Regions from separate parts of the Homo sapiens genome. Here regions 1, 2, 3, 4, 5 and 7 are each linked to region 6. The links are contacts of gene promoters, found by promoter capture Hi-C in human tissues and cell types (Jung and others, 2019). All regions are on one chromosome and are shown on one strand. Each heading gives the region's core, a stretch centred on a gene start or on the middle of the fragment in contact. The rest is flanking DNA. Distances are from core to core; before and after follow the strand shown.

Region 1 (2,870 bases), core at 138-2,637, 660 kb before region 6:
CTCCAGAAGAATAAGAGAATCACTTGGGCCCAGGAGGCAGAGGCTGCGGTGAGCTGAGATCGGCCACTGTACTCCAGAGCCTGGGCGATAGAGCGAGACTCTAAAAAAAAAAAAAAAAAAAAAAAAAAAAAGGGAGGAAGGCTTTGTGCAGCATCTCCTGCCTGATCGTGAGACCGATCAGGTCCCTCTGAGATACGCTTCATGGGAGTAGGTATTCCTGAATAGCGTTATTACTGACAGTCACAGTCCGGGTTGTCATCCACGCACTGCCTGTCTTCCCTTTTAGACTGTGCGATCCATGAGGGCAGTGGCCCGTCCTTGCACCTAGCACAGTGCCTGGCATTGCTCAGTCATATTGGCTAAATGAGGGATTGAAGGGACCGTGGGGCCAGTGACTGTCACTTGGTATGAGTGTCACTGAGAAATGTCAATTCTTCCAGCACCTTAATTGTTCTCCTCCTGTTGGCATCTTCTCTTGGCACAAAGCAGCCAGTTAGGCTGGGCTTTAGACCTGTGGATGGTCGTTTGCCCCAAGATGTATTTTTAGTCATTTTCTGGGAATTGGGGCTTTCTGGAAGCCCCTCAGCCATTCATTGAAATCTTACCATATAGAGGCCAGGTGCAGTGGCTCACGCCTATAATCCCAGTCCTTTGGGAGGCCAAGGTGGGCAGATAGCTTGAGCCCAGGAGACCAGCCTGGGCAACACGGTGAGACCCTGTCTACACAAAAATTACAAAAATTAGCGGTGCGTGGTGGTGCATGCCTGTGGTCCCAGCTACTCAGGAGGCTGAGGTGGGAGAATCACCTGAGCCCAGGAGGTCAAGGCTGCAGTGAGCTGAGATTGTACCACTGTACTCCAGCCTGGGAGACAGAGAGATACCCTGTCTCAAAAAAAAAAAAAAAAAAAAAAAAGGAAAAGGAATCTTACCACTTAGAGTCAGTAGTAGGTGACAGAAACCCACCCTAAACTGCCTAAGAAAAAGAGCAGTTGATTCGCTCATGAAACTTAAACCTACAGGAGAAGAGCTAGCTTTTTGCTGGGCTGGATCAAAGCTCTCAGGGGGTATCACGCATATCATGCAGTCCCCATGACTTTCCATGTCTCCTCTCTCTTTCCCTCGGTCTTGGCTTCATTCTTAGGTAACTCTTCTCTTGTGGTGACAAGAGGGCCCCCAGGGGCCCCAGCCTAAATCCCATCAGTTTAACAATGCCAGTGGGAGGAGAAGACTTTTTTCCAGTAGCTCTGGAGAAGTCTTGGGATTCACTCTCTCATTTCCCGGGCCAGCTGTGTTACTTTTCCTGCCCAAGCCTGGGTCCCATTCCCCCTGGAGCTGGGGGTGGCTGGCTTTCCCTCACCTGAACTCCGTGGAGCAGGAACAAGGATGGAGGAGAGTTTGCTTAAAAGGAAAACCAGGATGTTCCTCCCATCAGATTGGGGGTGCATGCGGTGAGGTGCAGCCTGCAGATGTCCCTGACAGTGGGTTGCTTCCACAGAGGGCTTGTGACGCTTGGATTCTGTCCATTTTCCAGAGTGACACTACCGTGCTGTCACTCTTGTGCCAGCTGTCTTGCGCACCCTGTCTTGGTGGGTGAAATCTGGGCTCAGCCATTCTAAGCGGTAGCCCGAAGGTCTCTGTGCTGTGTTCTCCATTGTGCTTTTCCTTGGCTAGATATTTCGGTCTGATATAATCTGACATTATTAGCAAACCGCTGGTCCAGCTACTTTGGCATATTTGGACTTGATCTTAGAAGACTCAATATCTGTTTTAAATAAAAATATTTGGTAATGCCCCCTTCTGAAATGAAATTTATAGCGAATATAACCTACTTATACAAGTAATTTAAAAAATCAGTATAACACTCTAATATGAAAGAGAAATGAAAGGAATTTATAATACAAAATAGATTTCAGTACATATTGGTCTGGCGCAACTGTGCTAGAAAACATGCTGACGCTAAGTGCTTGCACCTCCTTCTCATGGATGAGTTTTGATTTTAAGAAGTTAAGAAGATCAGAAGTCATTCTTTAGAAGGAGTCCAGAAAAAGAGCAGAGAGTGGGTGAACCGTAAAGTAAACCTGGCATAGTCAGTATATATGAAAGGCATTCCTTTCTAGGCTCAGATTATGAGTAAGGTTTCCGCCTACATGAATGGCCACAGGACGATTGAAGTGTTGCAGGAAGTAGGCTGATCTTGGTTGTGTGGTACTGCCTTGGCCTTTCAGGACAGTTAGTATCCTCGGCTCTATGCTGTAAATGCTGGTAGTGCTAATGGAAAGGGGTCTTGATTCAGATCCCAAGAGAGGGTTGTTGGATCTTGTGCAAGAAAGAATTCAGGGCAAGTGCTTAAAGTGAAGGCAAGTTTATTAGAGAAAGTAAAGAAGCAAAAGAAGGGCTACTCCGCAGACAGAGCAGCGGCATGGACCAACTGACTTAGAGTACTTATGGTTATTTCTTGATTATATGCTAAACAAAAGGCAGATTATTCATGAGTTTTCCAGGCTCGGGGCAGGATTTCCTGGAAGTGACGGTTCCTCCCACTTTTAGACCATGTAGGATAACTTACGGACATTGCCGTGGCATTTGTAAACTGTCATGGTGCTGGTGGGAATGTCCTTAGCATGCTTATGCATTCTAATTAGCACATAATGAGCAGTGAGGACGACCAGAGGTCACTTTTATCACCATCTTGGTTTTGCTGGGTTTTGGCTGGCTTCCTTACAGCATCCTGTTTTATCGTCATGGTCTTTGTGACCTGTATCTAATGACACCAGTCCTCCTGACCTCCCATCTCATCCTGTGACTAGGAATGCTTCACTTCCTGGGAATGCAGCTCAGTGGGTCTCAGCCTCATTTTAACCAGCTCCTAT
Region 2 (3,021 bases), core at 363-2,862, 670 kb after region 6:
TGAAAGGGGACACCCAGGGATCAGGACTCTACAGACCCTCCCTCCCATCCCACTTAGCCCCTCTTGTTCTTTGACTGAATTTTGTCATTCAGCCTCAAGCACGCCTGTTTTGTGTTTTTTTTTTTTTTTTTTTTTTTTTTTTGAGACGGAGTCTCGCTCTGTCGCCCAGGCTGGAGTGCAGTGGCGTGATCTCGGCTCACTGCAAGCTCCGCCTCCCTGGTTTACGCCATTCTCCTGCCTCAGCCTCCCGAGTAGCTGGGACTACAGGCGCCCACCACCACACCCAGCTAATTTTTTGTATTTTTTAGTAGAGACGGGGTTTCACTGTGTCCAGGATGGTCTCGATCTCCTGACCTCATTATCTGCCCGCCTCGGCCTCCCAAACTTGGGATTACAGGCGTGAGCCACTGCGCCCAGCCTTTTTTTCTTTTGAACAATGTTCTTACGTGGTCCACCAGTGATTACTGCAGGAGTCTTGGTAAACACTTATTGCATACCTACAAGGTGTCAGGAACTGGACTTGTCGCTGGAGAAATAAAAAATGAGTAATAGATCTCCCTGTCTACAAGGACCCCATTGTCTAGTTGGAAAATATAATCATAAACAATTATTTCAATGCAGTAGACTTAGGGCTGTGATAGAGGCACAGGACATTGTTGGGTCACATGGGAAGGTACCTTACACAGACTGGGCAAAAGTTATTAGAAAAGCTCTCTCAGAGAAAGTGATAGAGAAAAAGGAAAAGGAAATGGATTTTGCCATGCAAAAGGAAAGAAAAAGAATTCTAAGGCAGACAGAGCAATCCATATAAAATCACAGAGGCTTGAAACAACATGGCAAGTGCAGGGAACTATGATGTGTTTGGACCATAAAGTGAAAAAGGTGGTGGGGGGAGGTGAGCCTGGAGAAAGAGATCCCAACCTGGCCCCAAAGGCAAGTCATTTCAAAGCCTCTTTGCACCACACATTTTCTCTCTCCTTTCCTTCTTCCACAAACAAAACGAAAGTATTTCCCAATGCAGAATGCCAACTGAAATGTGCACTTCAAAGGCTATATTGGGCCAGGCGCGATGGCTCATGCCTGTAATCCCAGCATTTTGGGAGGCCGAGGCAGGTGGATCACTTGAGGTCAGCAGTTCAAGACCAGCCTGACCAACATGGTAAAACCCCTTCTCTATTAAAAATACAAAACTTAGCCAGGCATGGTGGTGTGCACCTATAATCTCAGCTACTTGGGAGGCTGAGGCAGGAGAATGGCCCGAACCCGGGAGGTGGAGGTTGCAGTGAGCTGAGATCACACCATTGCACTGCAGCCTGGGAAACAGAGCGAGACTCCATCTCAGAAAATAAGTAAAATGAACAAAAGACTAGACTGTGTTGGTTTTCTCTCCCTCTTATTTTCTGGGGACCTGCTACATTCTGATCATGGATCCTGTTTTGTTTGAGCGACATCGCATTTTCCTCTGAAATCCTTTCTGTCTCTCTTCCATCCGGTTGTTTCTTTAACTGAAAAAGGAACCTGCCGGGGAAACATGTTGGGGTCTTGACGGCATCTCATGTCTGTGTATATTTCAAAACACATAAAAGAGATCCTGAGTCACTGAGGGGCATCCTCCTGTTTCTTATGCTTTCTGTTTCAAAGATTGTCTCCAAAGCTCACCTCTTAGTGCTGAGAGTTTTGGGCTTCTTTATGGAATTGTCTGGAATCTTAAGAAAAAAATATACACTTGCAAATCAGTGCTGTGTTCACAAAGCAAAAGATCACACCCTAAGAACCAGGCTTTCCCTGTTGTTTAGGTCAAATCCCTTTTGACCTAATTCTTAGGGTCCTATAAGTCTGGACTCCTCTGGGCCAGACTTGAACTCTATAGTTTACCCCCTAGAAACACTGGACTTCCTTGTGCATCAGTTCCTGCAGCTGTAAAATGCAAGCATTGAACTAGATCATCCTGGAAGGTCTGTTCCACTCTAATAGTCTAGGATTTTGTAAAAAATTTATTTATGATTTAGTTAGTACTTCTGCCAAACATATTCCATAAACCTTCACCCAGCTTTTGAAAAACAACAGATCTTTCTGGATTTCATCTTCTTACATGAGTATTACTAAGCCTTTCTACATCGGTACAGGCTAGATAATTGGAAAAGAAAGGGTGTTAAGAATGCGGGCTCGAAGGCTGGACTTGGATCTAATGAATCCTAATATCTGGGAGTGGTGCTTGGGGACCTGTACTCAATAAGCCACCTGGGCGATTCTGATCCACCATTAGTGCATCTGATGTTTCTGCAGGTAACACATTGTATTAGTGTCCTATTGCTGCTGTGGAATATTACCATAAACTTTGTGTCTTAAAACAACACAAGTCTGTCATGTTTACAGGTCTGTGTCTGTTTAGAAGTTCTAAATTATTTTCATGGGGTGAAAATAAAGGTGTCATCATGGCCTCCTACTGGAAGAATCCCATTCCTTGCCTTTTCCAGCTTCTAACAGCTGCTTATATTCCTCGGCTTATGGTCCTGCACGGCGCCTATCAGTTTCCTTTGTCTCGTCCCTTTCACTGACTCTGAATCTAACTCTCCAGCTTCCCTCTTTTAAGGGCCCCTGTGATTACTGTGAGCCCTCTTGGATAATCCAAGATAATCTCCCTGTCTCAAGATTCTTAACTCCATCATGTCTGCAAAGCCACTTTTGCCATGTAGGTAGCATATTCATAGGTCTGGGTATTAAGGTAAAGACATGCTTTGGATGCCCTTATTCAGCCTATATCCCATACTGCCTTGATTTTGCTGAGGCTGATACAAGGGGCCCCAGAATTTGTTGCTGCAAATTTTCTTTTATAAAATCCAATAAACTGACTCTAGGAGATGTCACTGAAACACTTGCTAAAAATAATCTATATTCCACCAGGTAATCTGCAATCACCTGCATCATTTAGAACCCTCCATTTCATCATGCAATTAATTTATACATATATATATATACTTTCATTATTCACCTGTTAACTCCATAACATGCTAATCACGA
Region 3 (2,700 bases), core at 136-2,635, 620 kb before region 6:
GCCCCATCTCTATACAAAATAGAAAAAGTTAGCCAGGTGTGGGGGTGCACACCTGTAGGCCTAGCTACTCGGGAGGCCGAGGCAAGAGGATCGCCTGAGCCCAGGAGTTGGAGGCTGAATGAGCCATGATGGCGCCACTGTACTCCAGCTTTGGTGACAGAGTGAGACCCTGTCTCAAAAACAGACAAACTGGCATATGTTTCCCTGTTTTCTTCCATTTTAAGAAAATATTCATTTTAAATCTACTTTACCTGAGCCTATGGCCAGTATATACTTTACTCATTCCTTTTGAATCCTGGTCTCATCTTGAGTTTATGTTTAATGCTTTCCACCAGTTCTCTGTTGGTATGTTGCTAGTCGTTTAGGTTATTGCAAGCTTCATCTGTGACGGATTCTGCAAGGGACTGTTGATGGTTACAGTATTCCCAGAGTTGTTACACGTTGTTACTAGTTTGTGCTCTTTATACTTACAAATCAGTATTGTGGATCCAAAAATTTGTAGGTCACATTTTCTGAGAGTCTTAAATATGTTACTACATTTTCTTGAGGCATTGCTGTCAAAGTCTTCTCCTTAGAAGACTTGCCCAAAGGAACTCTTCTTTCTCTAAACGTCAGCGATTTTACTAGACTATATCTAGGTGTTAGTCATTCCGTCAGTATTTTCAGGTACATGGCATGTTCTTTCAGTCTCTTTCAATGTGGAACTTCGGGTCTCTTTATTCCAACAAAGTGTTTTTGAATTGAGTTTTTAGTACCTGTTATTTTGGTTTCTTCTCCAGGGGCTTCTGTTTTCTGTTCATCTTATTTACCTGTCTTCAGTATTTGTCACTTCCTCTCAAATCTATCCCTTTCTTCATATCCTTTTCTTTTTCTAAAAAAAACAAACAAAAAACAAACTTGCTCTTTTCATCTTCTAGGTGTTCCTTCTAGGTTGGTCTTCATTTCTGAAATACTTTCTTTAATGTTCTGAGTTTGGTTACCTCGCTGCATTTTTCTGGTTCTGGCGTACGTTGTTCTTTTATGTCATTTTTGTATTGTCTCCAGCTTGTTTTGCAGTAGGTCAAAGTCACTTGAGAATTTCTGGCGCATCTTTATCTGCAGCTATATTCTATTACTTATTCTGTTTCTCCTCATAATATTGTGTATGGTTTTATTGGATACTTCTTTGTTGCTTCTCTGTCTCTTTTTTTTTTTGAGATGGAGTCTTGCTCTGTCGCCCAGGCTGGAGTGCAGTGGCGCGATCTCGGCTCACTGCAAGCTACGCCTCCCGGGTTCACGCCATTCTCCTGCCTCAGCCTCCCGAGTAGCTGGGACTACAGGCGCCCGCCACCACGTCCGGCTAATTTTTTAAATATTTTTAGTAGAGACGGGGTTTCACCGTGTAAGCCAGGATGGTCTCGATCTCTTGACCTCATGATCCACCGGCCTCGGCCTCCCAAAGTGCTGGGATTACAGGTGTGAGCCACCTCGCCTGGCCCGTTGCTTCTCTTTATGTGTAGTTAGGAAGTGAAACTTTAGGAGAGAGGCGTGGTAGAGGGAGCAGAGCTCTCTCTCCTGTGGATTTCGTGTGGTGTTAGGCATACTGCAGCTTGTTTTCTGAGCTTTCCTGGCTCTTATCCCCCATTTCATCTGGATCTTCTTTTTCCCTCTTCTCTAATGTCTCGCTCCTGCTAAACTGTGATTCTGCTTCTGTAGCTTTTTCCCTCACTGCAGGGCCCAGTCCTGGAAGGGAGTCCTGACAGTACAGATTTGAGAGTCAGTGGAGGTGGGCCTGGGTTACCGTGGATCTCCTTGCGCTCACCTGCTAGGGGAGAGGAAGAATCTCCTGGCTTTACTGCACTTCTCAACGTGGCCCACCACGCTTTTATGAACCCCGAATATCTGAGACAGGCCTCAGTTAATTTAGAAAGTTTATTTTGCTAAGGTTGAGGGCGTGCCCATGACACAGCCTCCGGAGGTCCCGAGGACATGTGCCCAAGGTGGTCAGAGCATGGTTGGGTTTTATACGTTCTAGGGAGACATGAGGCATCAATCAACATATGCAAGATGAACATTGGTTCGGTCTGGAAGGCGGGACAACTCGAAGCAGGGCTTCCAGGTCCTAGGTAGATTAGAGACAAATAGTTGCATTCTTTTGAGTTTCTGATTAGCCTCTCCAAAGGAGGCAACCAGATAGGCATTCAGCTCAGTGAGTAGAGGGGTGACTTTGAATAGAATGGGAGGCAGGTTTGCCCTAAGCAGTTCCCAGCTTGACTTTTCCCTTTAGCTTAGTGATATGGGGGCCCCAAGATTTCTTTTCCTTTCACTTTCCTTCCAAGGAGCACCTGTTGGTGATTTGCGGGGAGGGGGCTGCCGGTGATTTGGGGGCCTGTTGGTGATTTTGGGAGGTCTGTTGGTGATTGAGGGGGGGTCCTCCTCAGGGCTTTTCATCAGATCTGTCGCTTGCCTCTGTGTTCTACGCAGATACCATGTAGGCCTTGTGGCTGTGACTTTATCCTTGCCTGCTTATATTTTGGGGTTTATGGGGGTACCTTGTCACCTAGCGTTGTTGTAAATGCTGTCTGTGGGCTTCTGCCTTTTTTTTTTTTTTTCTGGAGACGGAGTCTCACTCTGTCACGCAGGCTGAAGTGCAGTGGCACGATCTCAGCTCAATGCAACCTGTGCCTCTGGGGTTCAAGCGATTCTCCTGCCTCACTGTTC
Region 4 (2,807 bases), core at 251-2,750, 760 kb after region 6:
CTGCTCAAGTTCAAGGACTTTTGCAACAAGAAAGAGCCTCTCAAACTCCCAGCAATCTCTACCCAGGAAGGAGATGAACGTGACTGTGCAGGTCTGTCATTCAAGATTCGCCATCTCATCAATCTCATCTTCTCCCACTGTCCCCCTGGCTCACTCCTCTCCAGCCACCGCAGCCTCAGGCAGCTCCTCAAACATGAAAACACACTCCCACCACAGGGTTTTCATTTTTGCCCTTTCCTCTGCATGGACACACTTTTCTGACACCCTTTTAAACTATAGGCTTCCGATCACCTGATACTAGTAATTGAAGGGTGTAGTGAGCTATAACTGTGCTGCTGCACTCTAGCCTGGGTGACAGAGACCAAAAAAAATTAAACTAAAAGTTGAAAAGAATAAAATATAAACTTCCTTTTCTGCTTCCCTGCTTTGCATTTTTCTACAGCTCTTACCAAATCCATGCTTGCTTTGCCCCGAGTTTGCTGTGTGATCTTGGGCTAATCACTATCTCTCTCTGGGTTTTAGCTTCCCATCTACAAAATGAGGGCAGTGGTTGACAATTCTCTAAAATCCTTTCTAGCATTCACATCCCACATCTCTGGGTGCAAATAATGTAAATAAGCTTGATGCTGTGCTGGTCAAAATACATAGTTTCAGGCTTATTTATCAATAACAAGAAAGTGACATTGTACATAGTCACTTCTTGTTATTTTCAGTAAAGTCACCACCAACTCCCAATTAGCCAATCCTGAGCCATGGCTCCTAAGAGAAATACAGGGTTGGGTTCCTGCAAGCCTCTGACCACAACATTTTTATCAATCAATCAATGCATAACCTTGTTTTTTGTATATATGTGTTTAAAGGCATCTTATGTAACATATACTGATTCACTAACACTGAGCTCACAGTCAAGAGTACAGTAACACGTTCCTGAGCAACACTTATCCAACACATGTATGTCCTTCTTCAGGCATGTCACAGCCTTTGGAACACAAGGTAGCACTTCCACACTTTATTTGGGGAACAATTTTAAACAGCAAAGTCACCAAGAAAAAGCACACAAATGTGACAAATATGGCACTAAACAGACTACAAAAAAAGATATTTGTTTATCGTATGACAGCTGAAACAAGATGGCAGAGTGTTGCCCCGTTTCCCCTAAGCTAGGAATGTTTTCATCACCTGATTAACATTTTTCAGGGCTCTGCACATTTCTGTGAATGATTGTGAAAGTGTCACGAGTATTGATTCGGGGGTTACAAATAAATTTTAGCAAGTAAGCAAATTCACAAATACAGAGTCTGGGAATAATGAAGATCAATTTATAGTTTACAAAGATAATTATTATTTGCCTTCCCCACCACAATGTAAGCTCCAAGAAAGCAGGTGTTTTTCTGTTTTGTTCACCACTTTCTCTCTAGCTCCTAGAATATATACACTCTTAACAAATATTGGTGACATAAATAAGCCTGAAGATATCTATTTTGACCAGACACAGTATCGAGTTTATTTAAATTATTTGCACACAGAGATGTGGGATGTGAATGCTAGAAACGATTCTAGAGAACTGTCAACCACTGCCCTCATTTTGTAGATGGGAAGCTAAAGCCCAGAGAAGGGTAGTGATTAGCCCAAGATCACACAGCAAACTGGGGTCAAAGCAAGCATGGATTTTTTTTTTCTTTTTTCTGCATTTTCTATTTTTTTTTTTTCAGAGACATTCTCGCTCTGTCACCCAAAATGGAGTGCAGTGGCACAATCATAGCTCATTGCAGCCTCAAACTCCTGGGCTTAGGTCATCCTCCCACCTCAGTCTCCCAAGTAGCTAGGATTATAGCCATGTGACACCATGTCTGGCTAATTTTATATATATATTTTTTCTAGAGACAGGGTCTCTCTGTGTTTCCCAGGCTGGTCTTAAACTCCTCATCTCAAGCAAACCTCCCACCTCGGCCTCCCAAAGTGTTGGGATTGCAGGCATGAGCCACCACATCCAGCTGAGCATGGATTTCTTAAGCCATTCCATTTTACTATATTTCCAGCACCTTACAGACATGATCTTTGTTATTATTGGGATGTCTCAGAGCATCTGGCTCAGGGCTTAGAACAGAGTGGTTGTTCAATAAATGCTGACAGGCTGGATTACAGAAAAGGTAGGGGATATTCCTAGAAGATGAAAAGGCAGACTGCACCTTCAGCTAAAGTCAGTCACATCAACTGGAAAGATTGACTTGATTTTCAGCAGTAGCTCTCTCAGGAAAAAGTTAATGGGGAATAAAGAGGAACTCTGTTTATCAGTCAAGACTTCATGTTCCAAGTAATGAAAAGATAAACTTGCTTTAAAATAAACAAGAGAGAGAATTCATTGACTTGGGCAACAGAGAAGTCCAGAATTAGGGTGAATTTCAAATGTGGATTGAAAATAGCATTGGGGTAGCAGTTTTGCAGCTCTGCTTTTCTGCAAATCTCTTAGCTCGATTTGGTTTCTCTCACTAGCAAACTGTGTACAGGAGTCTAAGGCTTAGTATCTTCCCAACACAGCATTCAGAAGAAAAGAGCTTCTATGGTCCAGCACTCCCACCTGGAGATTCTCACCTGAGATTCACTGTAATTAGACTGGCTTAAGTCATGTGGTCACCCCTGAACCAATCACCATAGCCAGGAGGGTGTAAGCTGCTGATTGGCTGAGCAGGATCACATGGTCTAATCATGGAGCTAAGTATTGGTATCAGCACCTGAAGAATTTTCTATCGAAATTCAGGGATGGTAGAAAGACGGGAGAGGGGAATGAATACCAAGAAACAATGGTT
Region 5 (2,700 bases), core at 5-2,504, 640 kb before region 6:
GATGGTGCCATGTACTTACTTCCTGCCGGGCTTTGACTGAAACACCAGGCTTGTTCCAACTGGATGGCTTTGCACGTGATGGCTCCCTTCTTGAACACTCTTCCCTCAGATCTCAGCACGGTCGGCTCCTTCTGAGGGTGTCCAGCCTCAGCACACATGTCAGCGCCTCCGAGGGGCCTCGTCTGTTTACCCTCTCATCGTCCATCCTAGTACCATGCGTCATTTTCTTTATATCACTTTGACCCTCTGAAATGATCAATACTTGGTTGGCTGACTGGGCTTGTCCAGGGCATCCACACCCTCCTAAGTAGATGAGGAGTTGGCAAATATATTCTGTTGAGGGGCAGAGGGTAAATATTTTTGGCTTTGCAGGCCATATGGTCTCTGTCACAACTACTGAAGTCTGCTGTTGTAGCAAGAAAGCTGCCAGAGACATTACATAAATGAGTGGACATGCCTGTGTTCCACTAAAACTTCATTCACAGAAACAGAGCAGAAATGTGTGGTAGGCACATTCTATTCAATAAAGCTATTTAAGAAGCCACAAAAAATACACAACAGGCTGGATTTGTCCTGTGGGCCATAGTTGATGACCTTGAGCTAGCCTGAAGGCAGTGGGGTCTTGTGTGTCCTGTTCACTTTGGGTCCAGTGCTTTGAACGGGGCCTGGCTCGTAGGAGGTGCGTAGTAACTGTTCCCTGAATGCAGACCCAGGAATGCCTGTTCCATGCAGGTCATGGTGCTGGGCAGCGGCAACACCCTGGAGGGCCGGCAAGCACGTGTTTATCACACAACATAGTTGTTGCTTTGTTTTTCTTTTTTTTTTGAGACAGTCTCACTCTGTTGCCAAAGCTAGAGTGCAGTGGTACGCTCTTGGCTCACTGCAACCTCCGCCTCCAGGGTTTAAGTGATTCTCTCACCTCAGCCTCCCAAGTAGCTGGGGCTACAGGCATGTACCACCATGCCCAGCTAATTTTTGTATTTTTAGTAGAGATGGGGTTTCACCATGTTGGCCAGGCTGGTCTCGAACTCCTGACCTCAGGTGATACGCCCACCTTGGCCTCCCAAAGTCCTGGGATTACAGGCGTGAGCCACTGCGTCTGGCCAGTTGTTGCTTCTGATGGTAGATAGGAATGTCCTTTGCGGAGCCCCCAGGGTGAATTGGGTCACCCTGCTGAGAAAGGCGGGACTGGCCTCCCTGAGGAGGGAACACTGGAGCTGCGTCTGGAAGGCTGATTAGGGGTTTGGCAGGTGGGTGAGGTGGGGTAGCAGGGAGGAGGGCTTTACGAGAAGCTTGAGAGGGCCTGGTGTGTTTGACGGACTAGACTCTGCTACCCAGGGTGTTGAGGGTGACTGGAGAGGAGCTCAAGTGGACAGAGGCCAGACCAGAGGCCTGCACACCATGCCTGGTGGTGGGTCATTATCCTCTAGGCGATGGAGCAGCACTGAGGATGCAGCACCGATGAATTCACATGGTTAGAGAGGCGTTTCCATTGAGAGCAGTGTGGAGAGTCATGGAGGGGCTGGTGGCAACAGGAGACTAGAAATCTCCTGTAGAAGCTTCCCTCTATAGAAGCTTCTTGCCCCACATGGGTCTTGGTCTAGGGTGGGGTCTTGGGAGGATTTGTATTTGTTAAACCGAACCTTTTGTTCAGCCAGGGCTGAGGACTGTTCCCTGCCTCGGCACATCCTGCGGTCTCTGTTGGAGAGAACGGACCATAAGCTGATGCAGGCTCTGTTTCTGGCTTGCTCGATGGTGGTACTGTTCCGTGGTGCAGAGGATGAGCAGGTGTAGGTGAGGAGAGGGTGTGTCCAGATTTGGACATTCTACAGGAGTGGGGTGGGGAGAACTGAGATGTTAACAAGTAATTGAAAAATGAGGTCACAGGTAGTACAGCTCTCAAGAAGACAGTACAAGATGATGATGTGAATCTGCAAAGGACCTATGGAGTGGGAATATCTTTTGGTTGGGAGGGTTTGCTTTCTTAGTTGGGGAAAGCATTTTGGAGGTGCGGTGTGTGTGTAGGGGCACAAAGGAGCCAAGACTGGAAGGATGAGGAGGAACCAGCTCTCCCAGTGTCTGGGGGAAGACAGGGAAGGGCATATGCAAAGGCCCTGGGGTAGGGATGAGTGTGGGGTATGGAAGAAATGTCAAGAGGGGCGCAGAGCAGAATGTGAGAGGGCAATGAGGTACGAAATAAGGCATTTGAGTGGAGTTTGGAAAACAGAATTTCCAGTTGACCAAGATTTCTGGTTAATAGAGTACTAGTTATGCTGGTTTAAGAAAACCCGTGCGATAGTGAATGACTGTAATAAGGATTTATAAGATGTACTTGGGAATCCTTGATCCTGTAGGTTCGTGATTTTGAGAAGTTCAACTGCTACATTTTTGCCCCTGGCCTAGCATTACAACCTTGAGAAGATTGAGTACTGTTTACAAGTATGTACTTTTTTGGTTGATAATATTTCTTGAAACTTCTCACTTTGAAAGGGGCCATACAGCATTTGGAAGCTGTATGGGCAGCCTGAGCATTTGGCTTGGATTTAATCATGGGATTTTCTTACTTTGGGCAGCAGAATTCATATAAGTGTGTTTATTCATGCCTTTTTTTTTTTTTTTTTTTTTGAGATGAAGTTTTTTGGCTCTTGTTGTCCAGGCTGGAGTGCGGTGGTATGATCTTAGCTCACTGCAACATCCGCC
Region 6 (2,700 bases), core at 49-2,548:
AGACTCCGCCTTAAATGAATAAATAAGGTTTTACCATAGAATTACCGGAGAAACCTACTTTAGATAAGGTAGCAGGTAAAGTCTCTGAGGAAGTGAATGAACTTTAAAATGAGGTGTGACGGTTGAGAGAGCCAGGCTCACCAACCCTGCTAAAGAAGCAGAAAACAGCAAGCGCCAAGACCCTCAGGGAAAGAACGGCCTTGGCCCTTTTAAATGCAGTTCAAACAAGGGCAACAACAAAACCTGTTGCAGAACTGGGCAAGAGAGAGAATGACAACCCTGAAGGAAGTGGACACAAGCCTGATCATATAGGGCATTTAGGGTGACTTCCCTGGGGGTATAAAGCTGGTGAGAGCCTGGGAGGCGATCTGGCTGCAGGCAGCAAAAAGCCACAGAGGGGAATCAACAAACCAGAAACAAACCTCCCTCTTTACTTAGCACCTAGCATGCGTCCAACACCGGGTTACAAAAATACTTTTGATCTGTTTACGCTTCCAACAACCCTATGAGGCAGGTATTATCAAACCCATTTTTAAGGCAAAGCAGATAATCTAAATCCAAAATCCAAGCACTTCACTACGACTCTCGAATGCCCTCCCTCTCTACTGCTCTGATGGGGCAGTGTTACCATTTCGGTGAATGACTTAAATAAACGTCATTATGGAGTACAGAATACATAACGGTGAACAACCTTAATAAAACCGACACCCTCTAACATGCACCGAACGCTTATCCAGTAACACCCACAAGTATTCCCGTTTCACAGATGTGGAAGCTGAGGCCAAGATGCTAATGCACAGCTTGGAAACCAGGTCTCGCTGCAGAGTCCAAGCTGTCATTAACTATGCTTTGCTACCCTCCTCTTACTTCCCTTCTCTGGGGGAAGTTAGGTCAAGGCCAAGGAGGCTCCTAGACCAGATCGCTCTCTCGGCCTCGCCTCTCAACTGCGCCCCTGGAATCCCTAAGAGCAGGCTTTGATGCAGCTATGGCGGCTCCCAGGCCCCGGTGCAGCCCCGGATGGTGTCCGACTGGCGGAGCGCACACCTGAACAAAAGGTTCCCCCGGCGGAAGGTTCCGCAGCCCCAGAGTCCCCTCCCCGGGTGAGGGGCGGGCAGTACCTGCGGGAAACGCGGCCAGGGTCCTGCCCCTGGCTCTGTGGAAAACACCCCCCGCCTCTGCAGCCGACATGGCGAGCGAGTTTCTGGCCTTCACTTAGAACACTGCGTGGGTGGAAGCCGCGCGACTTCACACAGAACAACCGCTGGACCTGTCCCGCTTTGGGCGACGCCCTTTGATCTCGGGGCGGGACTGGGGCGGGACGGGGAGGGGCCCGGTGGCTCGGGGCGCCACTAGTGCTGCCTGGGCGGAGCGGAGGCGCCAGCGGCCCCTCTGGGATCGACCTGCGCGCCTGGCGAGTGGAGACTGTCTAGGGCACGCGTGGGCGGGGATAAGGCTTTGGGGTCAGTCCTTCCCTAAAGGCAGAGTTACTAGATTTAACAAGTAAAAATGCAGGACTCCCGGTTAAATTGGAATTTCAGATTTTTTTTTTTAAAGAATGACTGACTTGGTATAAATATGTCCTATGCAGTATTTGGGAGCTACTTACGTTAAATTTTTTTTTCATTATCTGAAATTCCAATTGAACTGGGCGTCCTAATTTTTTTAAATTTTTCTCTTTTTGCAGGTTTGAATGGAAGCGTCCTGATTTTTTTTTATCTGACAACTCTATCATAAAGTCAGAAGGAGCCACTGGGGTGGCTTACGCCTGTAACCCCAGCTCTTTGGGAGGCCAAGGAGGGAGGATCGCTTGAGTCCAGGTGTTGGAGACCAGCCTGGGCAACACGGCGAGAGACCTTGCCAATACAAAAAAAAAAAAAAAAAAGATGAAAAGGTGGACGTCTTGGAAGACTGTCTCAGCCTGAACTTCCCAGTGGCTGCCACCATCTTTCTGTTATTATCTTTGCTTGCTATGCACCAGGCAGGGCGCTAAGCACTTTGCACGCTGCTCACTTAATCCCCACTACAGCCCTAGGAGGTGGTGCTGTTATTAGCTGCATCCGTCATTTGGGGAAACTGACGCTCAGAGAGATGAACGAACTTGCACAAGGTGACACACATCTAGAGAGGTAGTAAAGCTGCGAGTAACCAAATTAGTGTCTCTTCAACTCAAGAGCCATTGTAGTGAACTACTTAGCCAGCATTTGTCAAACGTGTTGAAAATACAAATTCCAGAATGGACCTATTGAATCCAAATCTCTATGAAAATGATCTGTGTTTTGTTGTTGTTGTTGTTGTTTTGAGACAGGGTCTCACTCTGGTTGCCTAGGCTGGAGTGCAGTGGCACAATCTCTGCAGTCTCGATCTCCTGGGCTCAGGTGATTCTCCCACCTCAGCCTCCTAAGTGGCTGGCACTATTGGCGTGCGCCACCATGCCTGGCTAATACTTTGTATTTTTAGTAGAGACGAGTTTGACTATGTTGCCCAGGCTGATCTGGAACTCCTGAGCTCAAGCAATCCACCCACCCGGGCCTCCTAGAGTGCTAGGATTACAGGCATGAGCCACAGTGCCTGGCCTGAAAATGATCTGTTTTTAACAAGCACTGCAGGGGAGCTCTTATGATCTTACAAATTTGGGAAATTCTTTTCTAAACTAGCTGCCTACATCCAAAGCACTGTTTGAGTAGCTAATATGGCCATAAC
Region 7 (2,980 bases), core at 57-2,556, 690 kb after region 6:
TCTACCAAATTTCCAAGTTGTTATAATAATAATAAGGTAATGAGGTAATCATAATTGCTACTTATGATTAAGTAACAATAAGGCACTTGATAACTCAACCGTCATAACTAATTAAAATTTAGTACAACTAGAATAAGATGAAAGTGTCTCAAAATAATTATTTAGCCATCTCAAGTCAATGGTCAACATTATATAAAGAGAGTTTTCATTTATTAATAAGATAAGGAAACCACTATTATTTATTACCATTATGGATTTTCTAGTAAATCCAATAGGTCATGAGAAAAAAAAATAAGGAAGTTCATCACTGCTTCCATAAGATACGATTGCTTACTTAGAAACAAAATGAGCTGGAAAAAAATTGGAAACAATAATTATCGTCTGGAGGTGATGAGTTACAAAATCAGTATGTCTACATTTTTCCTGTGTAGTATTTGACATAAAGCAATTAGAAAATACAAAAAAAATCCATGCAGAGTAGAAATAATAGAAATAAAAACAAAACATCCAGAACTAAAGGTTAAAATACACACACACGATCTTGGCCAAGAGATGAAGATATATCAGTGTCTATCTATATATAAAGATTTGAAGAGCTCAATATGCCATTTTCCTAAATAGGAAAATTTAGTATTATTAAAATGTCACTTCTTCCAAAGTTAATTAATGCGTTTAATTCAATGCTAACCAGAATTCTAAAAAGGATTGCTTCAAAGCTTAATACAATTATTCTGAAGTTAATTTGAAAATATAAGCAGATGAGACTGATCAAGAGATATGAGGAAAAACAGGGCAAGTAAAAGGAACATCTTGTCCTGCCAGATATTACAATTTTTGTTGTTATTCATCTTTTTTTAAATTTTATTTTTAATTGACAAATAATAATTGTATATATTTATGGGGTACAGTGTGATACTTTGATACATGTTTACGATGTGGAATGATTAAATCTGTCTAACAAATAATTGTATATATTTATGGGGTACAGTGTGACATTTTGATACATGTTTACAATGTGGAATGATTAAATCTGTCCAACAAATATCTGTCTACCAAATCTGTCTAAAAGCAACCCAGGTATCCATCATCATATGAATCAATAAAGAAAAGGAGAGGGGCCGGATGTGGTGGCTCACACCTGTAATCCCAGCACTTTGGGAGGCCGAGGCAGGAGGATCACGAGGTCAGGAGTTTGAGACCAGCCTGGCCAGCATGGTGAAACCCCATCTCTACAACAAATACAAAAAATTAGCCGGGCATGGTGGCGCATGCCTGTAGTCCCAGCTACTCAGGAAACTGAGGCACGAGAATTGCTTGAACCCGGCAGGTGGAGGTTGCAGTGAACCGAGATTGCACCACTGCACTCCAGCCTGGGTAACAGAGTGACACTCCGTCTCCAAAAAAAAAAAAAAAAGAAAAAAGAAAAAAGAAGAGGACAAATTAAAATTTTAATAAGATACTTCATAAAATATCCTAGCAGACAAGTTGACAGACAGATACATGAAACATAAAAGATGCACCAGTTACCAGTGAAAGAAAAGATAAATGGTGCTGGGACAATTAATTATCTATTTGTTACAGGAGAAAACAAGCTTTAAATACCAAAATAAATTCCAATCAGATTAAAATAAGTGCAAATACGTGAATAAAATCTTAAAATATTAAAGATTTAGCATCTGAAGAGGGAGAAATTTGTGAGCAATAGAAAAAAAATCACAAAGCAAACACTCAACAAATTTGACAATATAGAATCTATTTAAATTACAAACAAAATAAAACAACAAATTAAAAAAATCAGATAAAAGTTTAATGTATTTAGCATATGAATCCATGGGAAAATATTAACATTCAGCAGAAAAAATAGACAAAGGATGTGAAAAGACAATGTAGAAGAAAAGGACCCTAAATGACAAATTGATACCAAAAAAATCAGTTTCATTATTATTCAGATAAACAAAAATTTTTTTAAAAGGCTGCCTTTAAAAATCAAACAAATAGAAGGAAAGCTTTAAATTGTTACCCCTCAATGCTAGTAGTGTAAAGACAGTGACATGGTCAACTACATACATTGCAGTTGGAGTAAACTTTGCAGTAAACAAGTTGGAACTAAGTTTCAAAAGTCTTAAAAATATTCAGTTTCCTTTACACAATAATTCTTCCAGAAATCTACCTTAAGAAAGTAGTCACGGCTGGGCGCAGTGGCTCACACCTGTAATCCCAGCACTTTGGGAGGCCAAAGTGGGAGGATCAGCTGAGGTCAGGAGGTTGAGACCAACCTGACCGACACGGTAAAACCCCATCTCTACTAAAAATACAAACATTAGCCGAGTATGGTGGCGGGCACCTGTAATCCCAACTACTTGGGAGGCTGAGGCAGTAGAATCACTTGAACATGGGAGGTGGAGGTTGCAGTGAGCCAAGATCACACCATTGCACTCCAGCCTGGGTGACAGAGTGAGACTCCATCTCAAAAAAAGAAAATAAAAGAAAAGAAGGTAGTCATGAATTTGTTTTCAAAGATGTCCAATGTAGTAAGATGGAAGACATCCACCAGGGTATTACTCCTTGGTTGTGCCAAGGAAAGGGGAGAAGTCAGTCTGGTTTGTGAATTTAGCAGACACTGATCTGGCCTGTCCTGCCTTCTTTTTCCACCTCCTTTTGGAAAGAATCTGCCTTCTTGCTGAGAGGATACCTATGGGTCTGTTCTCCAGACATAAGGTGAGAGGTCTGCCCCTGAGCAGGAGGCCCGAGGTTTGCCAGCAATGCTCATGCCTGCCCTGGATAAATCTGTACACTTCTGGGGTACAGTATCAGAGAACTCTGTTTCCCCACCTATGCAGCATCCTCTAAAGTAGAAACCAATCAGTAACCAATCAGTAACTAAGTTGACAGTTTGATCTCCACCTGTCTGAATTTCCTGTATCTAAACCTCATTGTGCTCTGAAGTTGGGCAGGAACAAGAAAAGTGTTATTTTATCAC

Evidence for each region. The method cuts DNA at HindIII sites, captures the fragments that hold promoters and counts their contacts. A contact is called where the count stands out against the background at its distance.
Region 1: a fragment that was not itself captured here is called in contact with the fragment with the promoter of CPPED1 in region 6 in 2 of the 25 tissues and cell types used here (dorsolateral prefrontal cortex and mesenchymal stem cells).
Region 2: a fragment that was not itself captured here is called in contact with the fragment with the promoter of CPPED1 in region 6 in 2 of the 25 tissues and cell types used here (H1 embryonic stem cells and mesendoderm cells).
Region 3: a fragment that was not itself captured here is called in contact with the fragment with the promoter of CPPED1 in region 6 in 1 of the 25 tissues and cell types used here (hippocampus).
Region 4: a contact is called between a fragment that was not itself captured here and the fragment with the promoter of CPPED1 in region 6, in 1 of the 25 tissues and cell types used here (mesendoderm cells).
Region 5: a contact is called between a fragment that was not itself captured here and the fragment with the promoter of CPPED1 in region 6, in 2 of the 25 tissues and cell types used here (dorsolateral prefrontal cortex and hippocampus).
Region 7: a fragment that was not itself captured here is called in contact with the fragment with the promoter of CPPED1 in region 6 in 4 of the 25 tissues and cell types used here (H1 embryonic stem cells, dorsolateral prefrontal cortex, mesendoderm cells and 1 more).

The regions. Positions count from the first base shown.
Region 1 is chr16:12,139,092-12,141,961 of GRCh38, forward strand. The region is part of intron 13 of SNX29 (sorting nexin 29); the gene reads left to right. Among named protein-coding and RNA genes, the nearest start is that of SNX29, 160 kb to the left of the region's middle. The HindIII fragment of the contact is 4,224 bases long and covers 1-2,870 here.
Region 2 is chr16:13,476,625-13,479,645 of GRCh38, forward strand. It overlaps a transcript of SHISA9 not described here. Among named protein-coding and RNA genes, the nearest start is that of ERCC4, 440 kb to the right of the region's middle. The HindIII fragment of the contact is 5,385 bases long and covers 1-3,021 here.
Region 3 is chr16:12,179,308-12,182,007 of GRCh38, forward strand. The region is part of intron 13 of SNX29 (sorting nexin 29); the gene reads left to right. Among named protein-coding and RNA genes, the nearest start is that of SNX29-AS2, 190 kb to the right of the region's middle. The HindIII fragment of the contact is 7,033 bases long and covers 1-2,700 here.
Region 4 is chr16:13,557,687-13,560,493 of GRCh38, forward strand. It overlaps a transcript of SHISA9 not described here. Among named protein-coding and RNA genes, the nearest start is that of ERCC4, 360 kb to the right of the region's middle. The HindIII fragment of the contact is 7,677 bases long and covers 1-2,807 here.
Region 5 is chr16:12,162,077-12,164,776 of GRCh38, forward strand. The region is part of intron 13 of SNX29 (sorting nexin 29); the gene reads left to right. Among named protein-coding and RNA genes, the nearest start is that of SNX29, 190 kb to the left of the region's middle. RefSeq lists an enhancer at 1,162-1,662. The HindIII fragment of the contact is 5,369 bases long and covers 1-2,700 here.
Region 6 is chr16:12,802,589-12,805,288 of GRCh38, forward strand. It overlaps CPPED1 (calcineurin like phosphoesterase domain containing 1), which reads right to left and starts at 1,299. Exons shown (of 4, transcript NM_018340.3): 1 at 1,119-1,299. The coding sequence starts at 1,188. RefSeq lists an enhancer at 881-1,250 and a silencer at 1,331-1,380. The HindIII fragment of the contact is 16,943 bases long and covers 1-2,700 here.
Region 7 is chr16:13,496,288-13,499,267 of GRCh38, forward strand. It overlaps a transcript of SHISA9 not described here. Among named protein-coding and RNA genes, the nearest start is that of ERCC4, 420 kb to the right of the region's middle. The HindIII fragment of the contact is 3,360 bases long and covers 1-2,980 here.